Regions from separate parts of the Homo sapiens genome. Here regions 1, 3, 4 and 5 are each linked to region 2. The links are contacts of gene promoters, found by promoter capture Hi-C in blood cells and fetal thymus (Javierre and others, 2016). All regions are on one chromosome and are shown on one strand. The core of a region is centred on a gene start or on the middle of the fragment in contact, and the rest is flanking DNA. Distances in the headings are between cores, read along the strand shown.

Evidence for each region. The method cuts DNA at HindIII sites, captures the fragments that hold promoters and counts their contacts. A CHiCAGO score of 5 or more calls a contact.
Region 1: a contact is called between a fragment that was not itself captured here and the fragment with the promoter of NAF1 in region 2, in 1 of 17 cell types (fetal thymus). The highest score is 5.6, in fetal thymus.
Region 3: a fragment that was not itself captured here is called in contact with the fragment with the promoter of NAF1 in region 2 in 1 of 17 cell types (naive B cells); the score reaches 5.4 in naive B cells.
Region 4: a contact is called between a fragment that was not itself captured here and the fragment with the promoter of NAF1 in region 2, in 1 of 17 cell types (total B cells). The highest score is 5.9, in total B cells.
Region 5: a contact is called between a fragment that was not itself captured here and the fragment with the promoter of NAF1 in region 2, in 2 of 17 cell types (fetal thymus and non-activated CD4 T cells). The highest score is 6.2, in fetal thymus.

The regions. Positions count from the first base shown.
Region 1 is chr4:163,521,987-163,524,992 of GRCh38, forward strand. It overlaps MARCHF1 (membrane associated ring-CH-type finger 1), which reads right to left. Exons shown (of 10, transcript NM_001394959.1): 10 at 2,732-3,006. Among named protein-coding and RNA genes, the nearest start is that of TMA16, 29 kb to the left of the region's middle. The HindIII fragment of the contact is 3,665 bases long and covers 1-3,006 here.
Region 2 is chr4:163,165,587-163,168,286 of GRCh38, forward strand. NAF1 (nuclear assembly factor 1 ribonucleoprotein) reads right to left here and starts at 1,304. Exons shown (of 8, transcript NM_138386.3): 1 at 777-1,304. The coding sequence starts at 1,141. RefSeq lists enhancers at 449-1,316, 808-887, 918-1,037, 1,058-1,257. The HindIII fragment of the contact is 3,845 bases long and covers 1-2,451 here.
Region 3 is chr4:163,592,480-163,595,518 of GRCh38, forward strand. All of the region lies in intron 7 of MARCHF1 (membrane associated ring-CH-type finger 1), which reads right to left. Among named protein-coding and RNA genes, the nearest start is that of TMA16, 99 kb to the left of the region's middle. The HindIII fragment of the contact is 4,571 bases long and covers 1-3,039 here.
Region 4 is chr4:163,661,971-163,664,716 of GRCh38, forward strand. All of the region lies in intron 5 of MARCHF1 (membrane associated ring-CH-type finger 1), which reads right to left. Among named protein-coding and RNA genes, the nearest start is that of TMA16, 170 kb to the left of the region's middle. RefSeq lists a silencer at 1,589-1,638 and an enhancer at 2,249-2,328. The HindIII fragment of the contact is 468 bases long and covers 1,168-1,635 here.
Region 5 is chr4:163,549,758-163,552,665 of GRCh38, forward strand. The region is part of intron 8 of MARCHF1 (membrane associated ring-CH-type finger 1); the gene reads right to left. Among named protein-coding and RNA genes, the nearest start is that of TMA16, 57 kb to the left of the region's middle. RefSeq lists enhancers at 1-397, 398-897. The HindIII fragment of the contact is 8,219 bases long and covers 1-2,908 here.

The DNA.
Region 1 (3,006 bases), core at 438-2,937, 360 kb after region 2:
GAAGAACCTTCTGCCCATTCATAGAATACTTTAGCTCGTGGCCTAGTTTTCTTCTCCCCTGCAGCAATCATTTTAGTGATTCCTTGTGGATAACAAATAGTGGCTAGCAAATATAACAACAGTATGAGTTTTAAGTTTTCCAGTCTTTTTCTCTGTCCCATCAGAGGCCTCTCAGTGGTCACACCTGGATCCTTATCAGCACCTCCACTCTGTAGACCTGATTTTGAGTATTCCACTCTCCATTCACTGTCACCACTCCTCTTCATTGCTGAAGTTCTGCACTTTGACCTCACTCTCATTACGCATCATCTGTCTTGTTGAGCTTAGCTTCAAGTTCATAGTTGCTTCCTTGCATATACCCTGAATTCCTTGTCTCTGACTCTAGTTATTTCTCTTTCAGAACCCAAACCAAGTAACAGCTATGTTTCCTTCATGCCTGTTCTCACGCAGCTCAACATCGCTGGAGAATATCAAACAGACCATTTTCATACTGATGTTTGCAAATCTCAAGTGGATTCTCAGTACTGCTTAGTGATCTTATTATGTTCCCCTACTAAGTTCATTTTCTAACTTTGAGATAATTATTTTACTACTTTTTTATATTTTTTTCTAGCTTGACTTGAATACTAGCCTTCTCAATGTTCAGCCCTTGGCTTTTTATACATCTTTGAGAAAATACAAATTACCACTTTCTTTTGATTTAATGGATATATCTTTTTTTTTCCTTTCAAAGGAAAATACTACTTATGTTCTGTTTCCCACTCCTTATTTTCTCAGAAACCTGATTTTTCTAAGTTTTTCACGCAATTTCTCAAGCCAGGAATCTGCCTGTAAAATCATCCTTGATTTTTCACTTTCTCTCTTCTATGCCTTCCCACAATATAATTTAATTAGCGAGTATTTCTGATTCCACTTCCAAAATGAAAATCAAATTGGCCCGTGTCAGGCAGTCTCACTTTTCATCCTTACCAAAGTCGCCATGTCTTGCCTGTCCTATGTGCAGTAGCTTCTTAACTGGCCTTCTTGCCACTGTTCTTGCTCCTGTTGCCAGCACCCTGATGGCCTTGTGTGTGTCCACTTGATCCACAGCTGGGCAGGGTTTTGCTGCGGATGACCTGACTGAGCCTTGGAAGACTGTCCTATAATCTTCCCAGAGCATGGGGATATGGAGGATATCATTTGCCTCCTGATCTTCTGGGAAGGAGATAGTGAGACAATTTGTCATCACCTGGGTTCTGATGAACTCTGAGACTCTACCTCGAGTCACTGTAGCATAGAGCTGCAGCCTATAAAACTAATGACTCAAGATTGGTGCAAAAGTAATTGCAGTTTTTGTCATTTTTTTTTTTAAAAGTACTTTTAATGGCAAAAACCGCAATTACTTTTGCACCAATCTAATATAATACTTAGCTGCAGCATGGACTCAGCATCTCAGCAACAGAGTGTCCTTCCCCTTATGTAGCACTACCAGTTCATCTGGCCCTTTTCTGTTTGTGTCTTTCTGTAGGACAAGACATACGGGAAGGCCGCACCTTTGCATCTTACTGTCTGTGTAAGTACAGTTGACCCTCCCTATCTAAGGGTTCTGCATCCTTGGATCCAACCAACCACAGATGAAAAATAGTCCGAAAAAAAAAAGTATGTACTGAACATGCAGAATTGTTTCTTGTCATTATTCTTTAAACAATACATTGTAACAACTATTTCCATAGTATTAGGTATTATAAGTAATCCAGAAATGATTTTAAGTATACAAGAGGGTATACATAGGTTATATGCAAATACTACACCATTTTTATATCAGGGATTTGAGCATCCATGAATTCTGGTATCTGAAGGAGGTCCTGGGACCAGTCCTCCACACATACTGGGGGGATGACTGTAATAAAACAGTCTTACAAGGGCCTGTTTCTCTACTGGCCGAATCCATCAGCCTTTGCTTGACATTTCCCATTCGGGATTTTGGTACTTACCATTCCCTCTTCCTGCGTTGCCATTCCCCTGAGCTTTTGCAAGGCCAACAATAACTGATTGTTCTCTCTTCCTTTAGGTCTGAGCTTAAAAGTGTTCTCTCTATCTAAAGCATCTCTACCCCCACACCCTTGCTACTCTTGGTTAATCTCTATCACAGCACCCAGTTTAGGATCACTGGACACATAATGACAGTGATTAATGATCTAGGAATGTTTGCTATAATTTCTGGTGGTGAGGGAGGGTGTTAAGTTCAGATTTCCATTTTGGGCAGAGGAGTTGGCTCATATAATTAGCAGACTGGTAGAAAGCCCTGTAGGTCCTTAGAAGTTGGACATTTGGAAACAGCTTTGTTTTTTGCTATCACCAAACCTCTTAGATTCTAATATCTTGCTTTTAATGTTTATTATCCATGCAATTATCTGAATCCACTATTATCTCTGAACAGAAAAATGCTGTTATATGCTTATTTTTCTATATCCAAGACTTATTCTTGAGACAGTCCCGCTTTAGATTACATTGTGATTTCTCTTGAACTCTTTTTTTAAAGCAGGTTTGAAAGTCCACATAGTTTATTTTCATTGGTTTCCCTCTGTTTGTGTATTTATTTATTTGTACCATGTCATGAGTTAGTCAACGTAGGTTTGCTTTAAAATAATTATATGTTCAGACCCTTGTAAAATCTTAAAAAATGTATGTGTGTTTGGATGTTGCAAATACAAATATCAGTCTGTTAGGCAAAAATTGTGGAAACCACAACTAAGGTTTGCGTCACTTGTTTAATATACAAAGTCTTTCACAGATAATTATTTTCTTTTTCTTAATTTGCTTTAGTACACATGATTCACAAAACAGTAAATTGTTAATGCAAGAGAATTATGTAAAACCAAAATAGTACAAATGCCTAATTTCAAAAACTGCACACAGTTAAAATAATTTTTCCTTCTTTGTTTTAATGCAGTATCCAGTTTCAAAATGGGCTTTCTTTAGATGTGGAGGAAACACTGCAGCCCAAAATAACAGTACTTCCTTTCA
Region 2 (2,700 bases), core at 54-2,553:
TCTCCGCTGATGACTTCCCTGAAAACTAAACTTCTCACCTCCTCAACACGTGTCTATCTTGTTAACCTGTTCAGTACCCCACTCAACACACTCAACTATTTGTAGACAATGTTCAGTGTGGTTTAGTAACATCCCACATGCTGGAGTCCTCTCCAGCCCAGAGATTTCATATTTAAAAGACAGGTGTGGGGGCAAGGGGGAAAGGCTCTCACAAAACGTAAGAAGCATAAGATACTACTAAATAACACTGTTTGGCTACTTTCATAAACACGTGTTCCCTGCAAGGATTCTATAAATTAACGTAATCATCAAGAGCCAGCTTTGAAACACAAAAAATAATACTTTTCCTGATCCCCAATGTATGTGGTTCAAAAAACAAAGCCTAGATGTGATGATAAAAAAAAATCAGATCTGACACAAAACTCAACTATAACCACAAAAGTACAGCCTAAACTGAGTAGTTACGGAAATAACCTAAGATCCTCGGGTTTTCTAAAGTCTAACAAAAAATGATACGATCTATACATAGAACCCTTCAGGCCACCAAATTTAGGAAATAAGTCAGTACTAAGCTCAGATTCACAACGCGACCTGCTTTGAGAGGCAGCGAATAAGGGGCAGTCGGAGCCAATACTTCAACACGTGAGCCCGGAGCACCAACGACCTGCCCACCCTCCAGGGCCCACACAAGCAACCTCTAGGCTCCTAGGCCCCAGCCACCCCCGCCCGTCATACAAGACCTCTCCCCACAGCTCCGGGTCCCTTAGGCACCCGACCTGTCCGAGTCCGAATCCGAGTCCGAGGTCTCCAAGGAGTCCGGCGCCCGCGCAGGCTCTGCGGCTCCTGGGGAGGTGACGCAGTCTCCGCAGGCCGGCGATTCAGCCGGTGGCTGTGGCTGCGGCGCCGGGGTCCCGGCCGCGACGGCGTTCAGAACGGGCTGCAGAGGCTGCTCCCCGGCAGGCTTAACCTCCACGGTCTGCCCAGCGTCCGGGGACCCCTCAAACGACTGTAGCGGCGGCTGTGTCCCTGGCACAGGGGCAGAGCCCGGAGACGGAGCCGCCGGACCTTCCCCAACTCCAAAGTCGGTGCCATTGAATTTCAGAGTTTCCAGCTGAGCGGCGGCGGCCTCCACTACCTCCATCGCACCGCGCCAGAAACCGGGTCGGCCTCAGGATTGGGGCCCCTGGACAAGCTCACGGCTCTCTCCAGAAATAGAAAAACAACTTAGGCAACCGCAGCAACACTGCCTGGGCCCAACTTCCCGCGTTTCTCAGGTAACTACACGCGGAGGAGCCAAAAGACACGCCCCCGCCATTTACGCAGCAACGCTTTCCGAAGAGCGTGTGACGTATGTGGCGCGACGGCGCGACGGCGCTCGCGGGGGCAGGATACATGCGTCATATCTTCGAAAATCAGGATTAGGGGGTCGGGCGCCGTGGCTCACGCTCGTAATCCCAGCACTTTGGGAGACCGAGGTGGGCGGATCACAAGGTCAGGAGTTCACAGACCAGCCTGCCCAACATGGTGAAACCCCATCTCTACTAAAAATACAAAAATTAGCTGGGCATGGTGGCGCGTGCCTGTAATTCCCACTACTTGGGAGGCTGAGGCAGGAGAATCGCTTGAACCCAGCAGGCGGAAGTTGGAGTGAGCCGAGACCGCGCCACTGCACTCCAGCCTGGCGAGAAAGCGAGACTCCGTCTCAAAAAAAAATAATCAGGACTAGGGAGGCCCTAAATCGACCGTTTTCACTGCGTCATGTGAACCATTCAAGGCCTGAATGTCGGATTTTCCTATTGCTGCATGTGAACCAATTCTGCTTGAAGCGCCAAAATGAAGCAGGGATTATACAACAGGGGGGTGCCTGAAGAATGCTAAGTTCTGTACATCAGAAACTTGAGCCAGGAAGTCTTGACAAGACGCTAGTAACTTCATGAAAGTTAAATGAAGTTTATCCATCAATAGATCCATCTGTCGATAGATAGGGTATTAACCATTTTTTCAAAAATGTAACTACAACTATTCCATTTTCCTTTCTCCAAAGTACCCTCAAAGAGAGCAGTAATGGACAAAATTTTGCTGTGTTGTTCATGTTATGGTGATGTCTATATCATACTTAGCACTGTTTCGTAGTAGAGAGATGAGACTATGAGACTGAAATGTACTCACTTATTGTTGGAAACCACTAGTCTAAATTGTGGAGAAAGCAAGCAGAGTTCTTAGGACTGAGGAAGAGATCAGAATTTTCTGGTTTCCTATTAGGTCTTCAGTTTGAGGCATCAGTCCCTGTGTAGTAATAATAATCATTGATACCATTTGTTAAACATGCATATGTGCCAAGGACTGTGCTAAAGATTTTATAAATTATTCACTGAGAATTTAGTGTGTCATCTACAACAGTAGATCTTCATAGAAATGCAAGGCAAGTGTAATAAGAGTAAGGTTTTAAGAAGCTTACAATCTACTTGAAGTAGAGAAGGGCAATGCACAGGAGATAACTAGAAAAATATTTGAAATATGAAATAGAAAATCCAAGTGCAGCAGAAATGGGAAGTAGGATTGGTAGGCTATTTCATGGAAATCCTCCAAAGTGAAGAAGGACTTTAAACTTGGGATACGAACTTACTAGCACAATGATTAAGCAGAGCTCAGAGTTTTCAACTAAAAAGACCTGTGTTCAGGCCTCAGCTCTACCATTTT
Region 3 (3,039 bases), core at 196-2,695, 430 kb after region 2:
TGGAGCTGATCCAAGAGTCGCAAGTAATCAGCCACATTTTTTTTTTTTTCACCACCAGACATCACACTGATGGAAAACAGTGGAGAAGAAGATAATGATCACCTTGCTTGGTCAATAATGAAAGCAGAGGAGGCCAAGTCTTATTTGAATTCACAGACATTGAATTCTGCAATGGATTGGGAAGATTCTATTGGAATTGCTTCTCTTGGGTGTCTCATCCCCTCTGGAGATGGTTCGATGCCATTGATACTAGGACTTTAAATTCTGCTTGGGACTGAGGATTCCCACTGAGATTCTATTATCATCTAGCCTAGTGGTTCAGTCTCATAGTGGGCCGGAGCCTCTTTGAAGACTATCTGAGAGGTCTCCATGGGCTCTTGAAACACATTAAGATTCCCCCATTCCCTCTATTGATGTGTGTAGCCCCTAGGAGTCCCAGTCAGTATATCTAGCAATCTTAAGATCAGCTCAGACTGTCCAAATCCTCCAAATCAGGAGAAATCAAAAGCTGGATTGCATCTTTTAGGATAATCCCTTCCCTGTTAACCATCGCTTTACTGCCCTCTCTATACTCATTGGTTAGCTCAGAGGACCATGTATTTCTGCATAAAGGAAATGAGTTCCCCAGTGCCATTTATCTTTCCAGATCCTACCTTACAATTTTGATGACTTGTGGATAAGTAAATAGATAATATATATTGAACGAATATCCGAAGGTTATGATTTTCTCTACATTTGCATATGTCATAAATATTCATTTTATATCAGCTTTGAGGTCTTTTTGGGTGCATTTGTAAGACTGACAAAATTAAACTAGAGATATTTCTAAGCAAATGTGCTTACAGTTATTAGGCTAAATTTTTGTTAGCTGCATACATTGAAGTAAAAAGGCAAAACAAAGGGACAGATAATAAAAACTCATTTGGCTTTAATATGTAGCTATAATCAAAGAAATATATATGGTCAGATACAGGAGAAGGCTTTTGTATATACATAATAACAGCTATCAGAAAAATTATGCAGTTATAACCTTTTAGCCTTTTTCATTTCTGCATGTGGCAGAAATTCTTAATTCAAACTGATTTTCTGATCTTTTTTTTGTGATGGCTAGGTGTTTGAATTTTTCTAAGCTCATCCTCAACCATGACTTCCTTCCAATTTTGTCCACTCATTAATCTTATCTGGCTGAGCATTACATCAAAGAAAGTCTCAAGTTGCCATGGATAATTGACAAAGCAGGCACTTTATTTACAGATAACCAAAAATGCATTGAATTAGAAATACGCCTTTGCATATGAATTCTTCTACAAAGGCAAGTAAGTACAAAATACTGATGTTTTACAGCAGTTCCAACCACATTGAGTGAAGAATGATCAACTTTTATTCATTTATTCACTCATTCATTCATTCATTCAGTCAACAAGTAATTTGTTGCTTATGTATATATGCAAGGTTTTATAAGGTCCTATGGTAAATATAAAGATGAATTAGTCTCAGTCTTTTTCCTTTAAGAAGTTTATATTGACAGTTTATGCATCAGACAACTGCAAAATTAGACAGGATACATTTAAAATGGGATGTGTGCCATGTCAAGTGCTGTTGTATGCAAAGGAGTGAAAGATCATCTCAGATTGGGGACCGGGGGAGGGTAGAAAGTTTAATGGAAGATGTGGCATGGGAATTGGAATTGAAGCTGGGGTAGAATTATGGCAGATGGAGAAGGATGTTGGTAGAATATACTAGGCATAGAAGATGTTTTCAGTCAATGCTTAGAAGTAGGATTGACTGGGTAATTTGGTAACATTATGTGGCCAAGTATGAAAAGAGCATGAAAGTTCTTACTCCAACTAAATACAATATTTAGTATATATTTAGTATATTTATTTAGTATATACAATAATACCACATTATTATTATATGATATAATAATACAATTAATTACTTTAGTAGGGAGATATCATGCTGAAAAATAAAGATTACACAGAGCCTGGTATTTCCCTCAACCAGTGCCAATACACACACACACACAAACACACACACAAACTAACTTTAATTGTATTTAGTTGAGTAGGAACCCACTACATAATTTAAATAAAAAATTAAGATTACATTAAAAAATGAGCAAAGGAGCTAAAAAGACATTTCTCCAAAGAAGACATACAAATGGTCAACAGCTATATAGAAAGGTGTTCAAAATCACTAATCATCAGGGAAATGCAAATCAGAGTCACAGTGAAATGTCACCTCGCACCCATCAGAATGGCTATTATCAAAACACAAACACACACACACACACACACACACACACCCAAACCCAAACAAGATAAATGCTCCTGAGGATGTGAAGAAGTTGGAGCCCTTGTACGCTGTTAGGAATAAAAACGGTGCAGCTGCTATGGAAAACAGTGTGGAGGTTTTTCAAAGAATTAAAAATAGAAATACCATATGAGCGAGCAATCCCACGTCTAAGTATCCAGAAGAATTGAAATCAGGACCTCAGATAGGTATCTGAACTCCCATGTTCATTGCAGCATTATTGACAAGAGTGAAGCTACGGAAACAACCTAAATGTCCATCAACTTATCAATAGAGAAAGAAAATATGGTATAAGCCAGCGAGTGGCTCATGCCTGTAAACTCAGCACTTTGGGAGGCCAAGGCGGGAGGACTGCTTGAGCTCAGTTTGAGAGTGAAGCTACGGAAACAACCTAAATGTCCATCAACTTATCAATAGAGAAAGAAAATATGGTATAAGCCAGTGAGTGGCTCATGCCTGTAAACTCAGCACTTTGGGAGGCCAAGGCAGAAGGACTGCTTGAGCTCAGTTTGAGACCCGCCTGGGTAACACAGTGAGACCCTGTCTTCACTAAAAATAAAATAAAAAAAAAATTAGCGGAGTGTGGTGTCATGTGCCTGTAGTCCCAGCTACTTGGGAGGCTGAGGCAGGAAGATTGCCTAAGCCCGAGAGATTGCAGTTGCAGTGAGCTATGATCATGCCACTGCACTCCATCCTGGGCAACACAGTAAGACCCTGTCTCCA
Region 4 (2,746 bases), core at 152-2,651, 500 kb after region 2:
TTTCAAAAATGTGAAGTAATTGCTCCTTTTTAAAAAACAATTCCAGGGTTATGAGAAGTTTGGAGCCATCCTGATTCTTGATTCTTGGAATAAAATCTTTTTTTTCTTCCTTTTTTGGTATGTGTAAGATGTAGCATTTGTTTCCACCATTCATTTTGCTAGGTACACAGTTGGTCCATGATATCTGGAAATTATGTCTTTAAGTTTTTGGATATTTTCTTTAATTATTTCCTTGATAATTTCAAATAATGAAATTTCACATATTGTTTTCTTTGCTGTCTCATCCTGGAACTCTTATTGTTTCTAGTACTGTTTTTATTTCTTATTCATCTTATTTCAAGTATTGTTTTCTTTGTTCTCTCATCCTGGAACTCTTATTATTTGGATGCTTAAACTCCTGAATTAATTCTTAAATTTTCTAACTCTTTCTCTTCTGTTTTCTTTTTGTCATACTTTCTGGAAGTTTTCTTTTCCTTTTTTCCCCCAAACTTCCAAATTATTTTTTATTTCTGCTCTCATATTTGTAATATCCAAGCACATTCCTTTCTAGTCCCAGAATCTTCCCTTTCAGCCCTCTGCGGCTTTAGTTGTCTCTACTTGCTCTAAGTCCGTCTGTTACCATCTCTCTCTGTCTCTGATAGAAATTTTCCTCAAATATCTGTTGATCTCTGGATATTAGTTGTATTACACACTCACTCAAAAGCTGATTAGGTCTATGTGTGTCTCCGGCTAGTGGTGGCTTTCCCTCTAGGGTACTCAGGCCGGATTGTTTTTGGGAAAATTTTCTCAATTCTGCAGCTATTCTTTCTGTTTTGTCAGTTCACTGAGAAAAAAAAAAATCGTACAATCTCTTGTTTGAAGGCACACGCTAAGGCCGGCATTCCGAGGCAAATATGGGAAAGAGGAGTCAAGGTCTTATCACCACTAAGGATGCGACTGTCTGCACTACAGTAACCTCACCCCTTCTTCAGAGAGATTGTGTTTGTTTGCCACGGGTTATTATTGGCCTGGAAAAAAAAAAATGTTTCTTAACTAGGGGATTCCCAGGTCATGCAAACAATACAAATTTAACCTTCTAACTGGAGTGTAATATAAGTCTGTGATTACATTACTCAGAGAATTTGTTTTTTCTTGTATACACAGAATTCAGGCCAAAATAAAAAGTCAAGCTTCTTTTTATCTCTCTGTGTGGATAGTTGGATATTTTTTCCTAGTGGATGCTTACACAGAGACTATAGTATTTTAAATCATCTTTTTTTTTTTTTTTAGATTTAGGGCTGTTTAAGTGTACATCCCACTCAGGCCCATTGCTTTATCTTCTGTTTCTGCCTGGGCACTGACACCCTTGCCACTAGATGATCACAACTGACCACCCCCCAGGGCAGCCACACTGTCAGCTCTCAGGCCAATTTCTCTGGCTTATGTTTCTCTCTTCCTTTCTCACTGCTGGAGATTTTTCTTTTCTTTTTCCTAGCACAGCTGAGTATAAATAAGGACATTTGTTATATTTTTATCTAGCATTTCTATGTTTTTATATTCTGAATGATTTTGGATCATCTCGTCTGCAACATTGCTTGTCTCTAATTGTCTTATTTTCATCTTTGCAATCATGGGTTTTACTGGCAAGGGAGCTGAAGCTTGTGGAGGATAAATGACTAACCCAAGAGTGAGCAATAGGTGGCAGGGCTAAGGCCACGTCTCTCCTGGCGCGGTGCTCTCTCCAACATGCTGTGTCCCCAGATCTCTTCTATGTCTGAAACTTTCTGATTTCAACATAGACTAATATCTATAAGCTCATGCTAATATCTATGATCTCATATTCAGAAGTGAGAATCAAGTATATAAAAATTGATAGAAACTAAAAATCTTTAGGCTTTAATATTAGCCTCTTACTACTAGATTGTTTATCAGAACTTTGAGCTATTAACACAGTTATGTCAAAGCTTTCATGTACTTGAAAAAATGGGGCAGCTAAAAAAAAAAAACTGCCAAAAACATCAAACAGCTGACAAATGCAATCAGCTGTGATACATGAATTTGCATTGTCTAACTGGAGGTTGGACACTGAAAAATAAACCGAGTACTCTCACTACCCTATTTTTCATAGGCAATGGAATCTAAAGGCACTTTCAATGCTGTAAAAGCCTGACAAAATGTTTAAGAAACAAACAGGAAGAAGTTTAAAGCAAAGAACATGTGTAAGACCATCTCTATTTGCCTTTTCCTGAGAAAATAATAAATGTACTCCCACATGTAATTTTCACAGCATATATAATGATTTTGCTGAGAACAGATTGCTCAGTACATTCCCAGATGTATACAGAAGATCAAGTTAATGAAAAGATACTTTGAAATACAGTAACTGGATACTATTTTAAAATAATGTATGCAGTTCATATCAATGATTTTCAAAAAAAATTCTAAGGCAGAGAGGCCCCTTTTTCCAAATTAAACATGACAAAGAATGCTTAAATATAAAAGAGATGAAACTTAAAATGTTTTCTTTGAAGAAATGGAGGAGATTTCCCCAACACCCTAGCCAGTCAGTGCCCCACCTACAGAGAACTCAGCTGCCCTCAGACTTACTTAGGAACAAGCCAGATTCTGTAAGGAGGGGATTTGAATCTAAAAATCATGTTTTAAGTTCCTAACATGCTAGAATAAAGACATTGTATCTGTAGGGTCAATTTATCTAGTGGACACATTATATATAGGGCTTAGGACAGAATAAATCAGCATTATAAAT
Region 5 (2,908 bases), core at 96-2,595, 380 kb after region 2:
ATGACTGTATGTTTTTTCTGAATTGTAGTATAACTTGATGCAAACATTGTTTCTGTGAAATTGTCTATTTGATGAAGTTAAATCAAACTTTGCATGATAGGGTCAGGTTTTCTAATTCAAATTACTTGCATTATATTCTGTCCTAAAATATAAATTTAAAAGTACTGCCCACAGAAAAGTGTTGTTTAAATCTTTATACCAGTGAAGAATAAAGGCAGTTTATTTGTATAACATAAAAATGCAGGCCGGGCGCAGTGGCTCACGCCTGTAATCCCAGCAGTTTGGGAGGCCAAGGCGGGCGGATTGCCTGAGCGCAGGAGTTCGCCACCAACCTGGGCAACACGGTGAAACCCCGTCTCTACTAGAATACAAAAATTATCCAGGCGTGGCGGCGGGCGACTGTAGTCCCAGCTACTCGGAAGGCTGAGGCAAGAGAATCGCTTCAACCCGGGAGGCAGAGATTGCAGTGGGCCGAGATCGCGCCACTGCACTCCAGCCTCGGCGACAGAGCGAGACTCCGTCTCAAAAAAAAAAAAAAAAAAAGAAAAGAAAAGAAAAGAAAAAAGCAGGAGGTAGGGACTACTTTGCCAAATCCATTAAATCCATTTCGTCTTTTTTCTTGACAGTTCACCTATGGTTTCCAGCTTCCGTAACAGTCACGTGACCTAGAGTTTTCAATCTATAGAATGATAGACCAAAAAATTACCACCAGGTGGCGCCAGGCCCAAACAGTAGCTAGTACGGTAGCCCTTTTTTTTTTTTTTTTTGGTACCGCCAGACCCAGGAGCTCCCAGCCGGCCAGGTGTGCAGGTTCTTCCTGTCATTTTGCATAAATGCAAAGCCACATTTTAATTGTTTACTGGCTCTGCCTGTCATATTGGATTTTGCTGCAGACGAGCGAAAATAATACCTGAAACAGCAAGTGTAAAGGTTATCACATTATTTACATGCCTTAGTAAGATATGTTGTGCTGGAGGATAATAAGTAAACCTTTTACAAATCCTTGGACTTGCTATGCTGGAGAAATTTCTAGAGGACCCATTCATATGAAGCAGTGGTTCTCAGTGTTCCCCAGTAGCAGATGCAGCAGCAATCAGGAAACTTGTTAGAAACCCAGTATTTTGAGCCCCACACCAAACTCACGGAATCAGAAACTCTGGCGATGGGGACCCTGTAATGTGCTTTAACAAGCCCTCAGGTGATTCCGATGCAAGCTACAGTTAGAGAACCACCTGCCTAAAGGATGACACTTAGCAGAGTTGCACGGTGACCTCCGTGGAGTTTATATCAGAAGTAGTACTTGTCACTCCCTGTCATGAACTAATTAGTAGTCCAGGAAAGGGTAATCAACAAATGAGTTTTGTTTTCTGGCTGTGATTTAAATATTTCAGGTCGACTGAAAAAAATTACATAATTCATTTATTTGAACTGAAATGATTCAGAGTTAGCTCATTAATCACTAAAGCAAACTTTCATTTTTTGTTTTACTTTTCAAATTAGTGTTTAGGTAACATAAAAGCCTATTAAAATCTAATTATACTAGTAACAATTTCAAATACTCTGGGAGAGAACTAAACAACAGACTCTTAATTATGAGGAGTAACTCTTGAACCTTAATAAATCTTTAAGTTCAGAGGTATGCCTATGGTAAATAATTTCCCTCTTAAAAATGTATTTTAAAAGACCAGCAGAAAAATTTGACCTCTGCAGACCTTTAGTGAAATTTGCTACAAAACTGATGATAGGGAGGAAACAACAAAGCCAGGTAGGTGGTAGGCAGCTGGTAAAGTTCACTAGTTAAGGCACTCACTGTTGGACACAAATCAGGAAGTGTACACAAGTGCAAACTTGTTCTCTCAGAATTACAGTAATATAGTGGCTGTGTCCCCACCTAAATCTCATGTTGAATTGTAGCTCCCATAATTCCCAAATGTTATGAGAAGGACCTGGTAGGAGATAATTGAATCATCAGGATGGCTTCCCCCATACTGTTCTTGTGGTAGTGAATAAGTCTCACGAGATCTGATGGTTTTAGATCATGAGGTCTCTCTCTTGCCTGCTGCCGTGTAAGACATGCCTTTCACTGTCTGCCATGATTGTGAGACCTCCCCAGTCATGTGGAACTATGAGTCCATTAAACCTCTTTTTCTTCATAAATTACCCAGTCTCAGGTATGTCTTTATGAGCAGTGCAAAAAGGGACTAATATAAGTCCCTTTACAGATAAGCATGTACATGAAGGCTTTCTTACTAAGAGTCAAAACCTCAGATATAATAGCCATAAATGCTCTGTGAGTCTATCATTTCCTTAAAAAAACATTTTCTCCCCTAGTTCTCTTCCACGTTAGGTCCACCAGTGATAATCATTTGACATCTTTTGTACATGGCCCAATGTGAGGGGACACTATTTTCTGATTAAGTGCAGCTCCTCTGTCTCTCCTGATAACAGTACAAGAAGGTCTTGTACTGCACCAAAGATTAGGATCTGCAATCCAAAGGAACTGCAAGTGGAAACAGTGAGGAATGGGCCATGTGTCCAGATGGACCTGGGAGATCACCAACCCAAATATAGACAGCAAATTAACAGCTACCATCTTGAGACAGTGTGTGCACGCAGCGGTTTAGAATCGGGGGAAGTAGTTAACTGAGACCCAGGTTTGGGTAAAGATACCACTGCAAGTAATTGGCAGTCTTACTGAAAAACGGTAATAAACAGTTCCACAAAGAGGCATATCTAAGACCCTGAAATCAATGGCTTCATTTTGCTACCACTCAGTTTGAGTCTCCTTTTGCATTCTGAACTGCTGGGTAATGGGAGTCTTTTCTAACTAGAAGTGGTTTTCAGTATTAGCTGTTTGACAGGATCATTTGGGGCATCAAGTTCCCTATAGACACACTCAGGCCTCGTT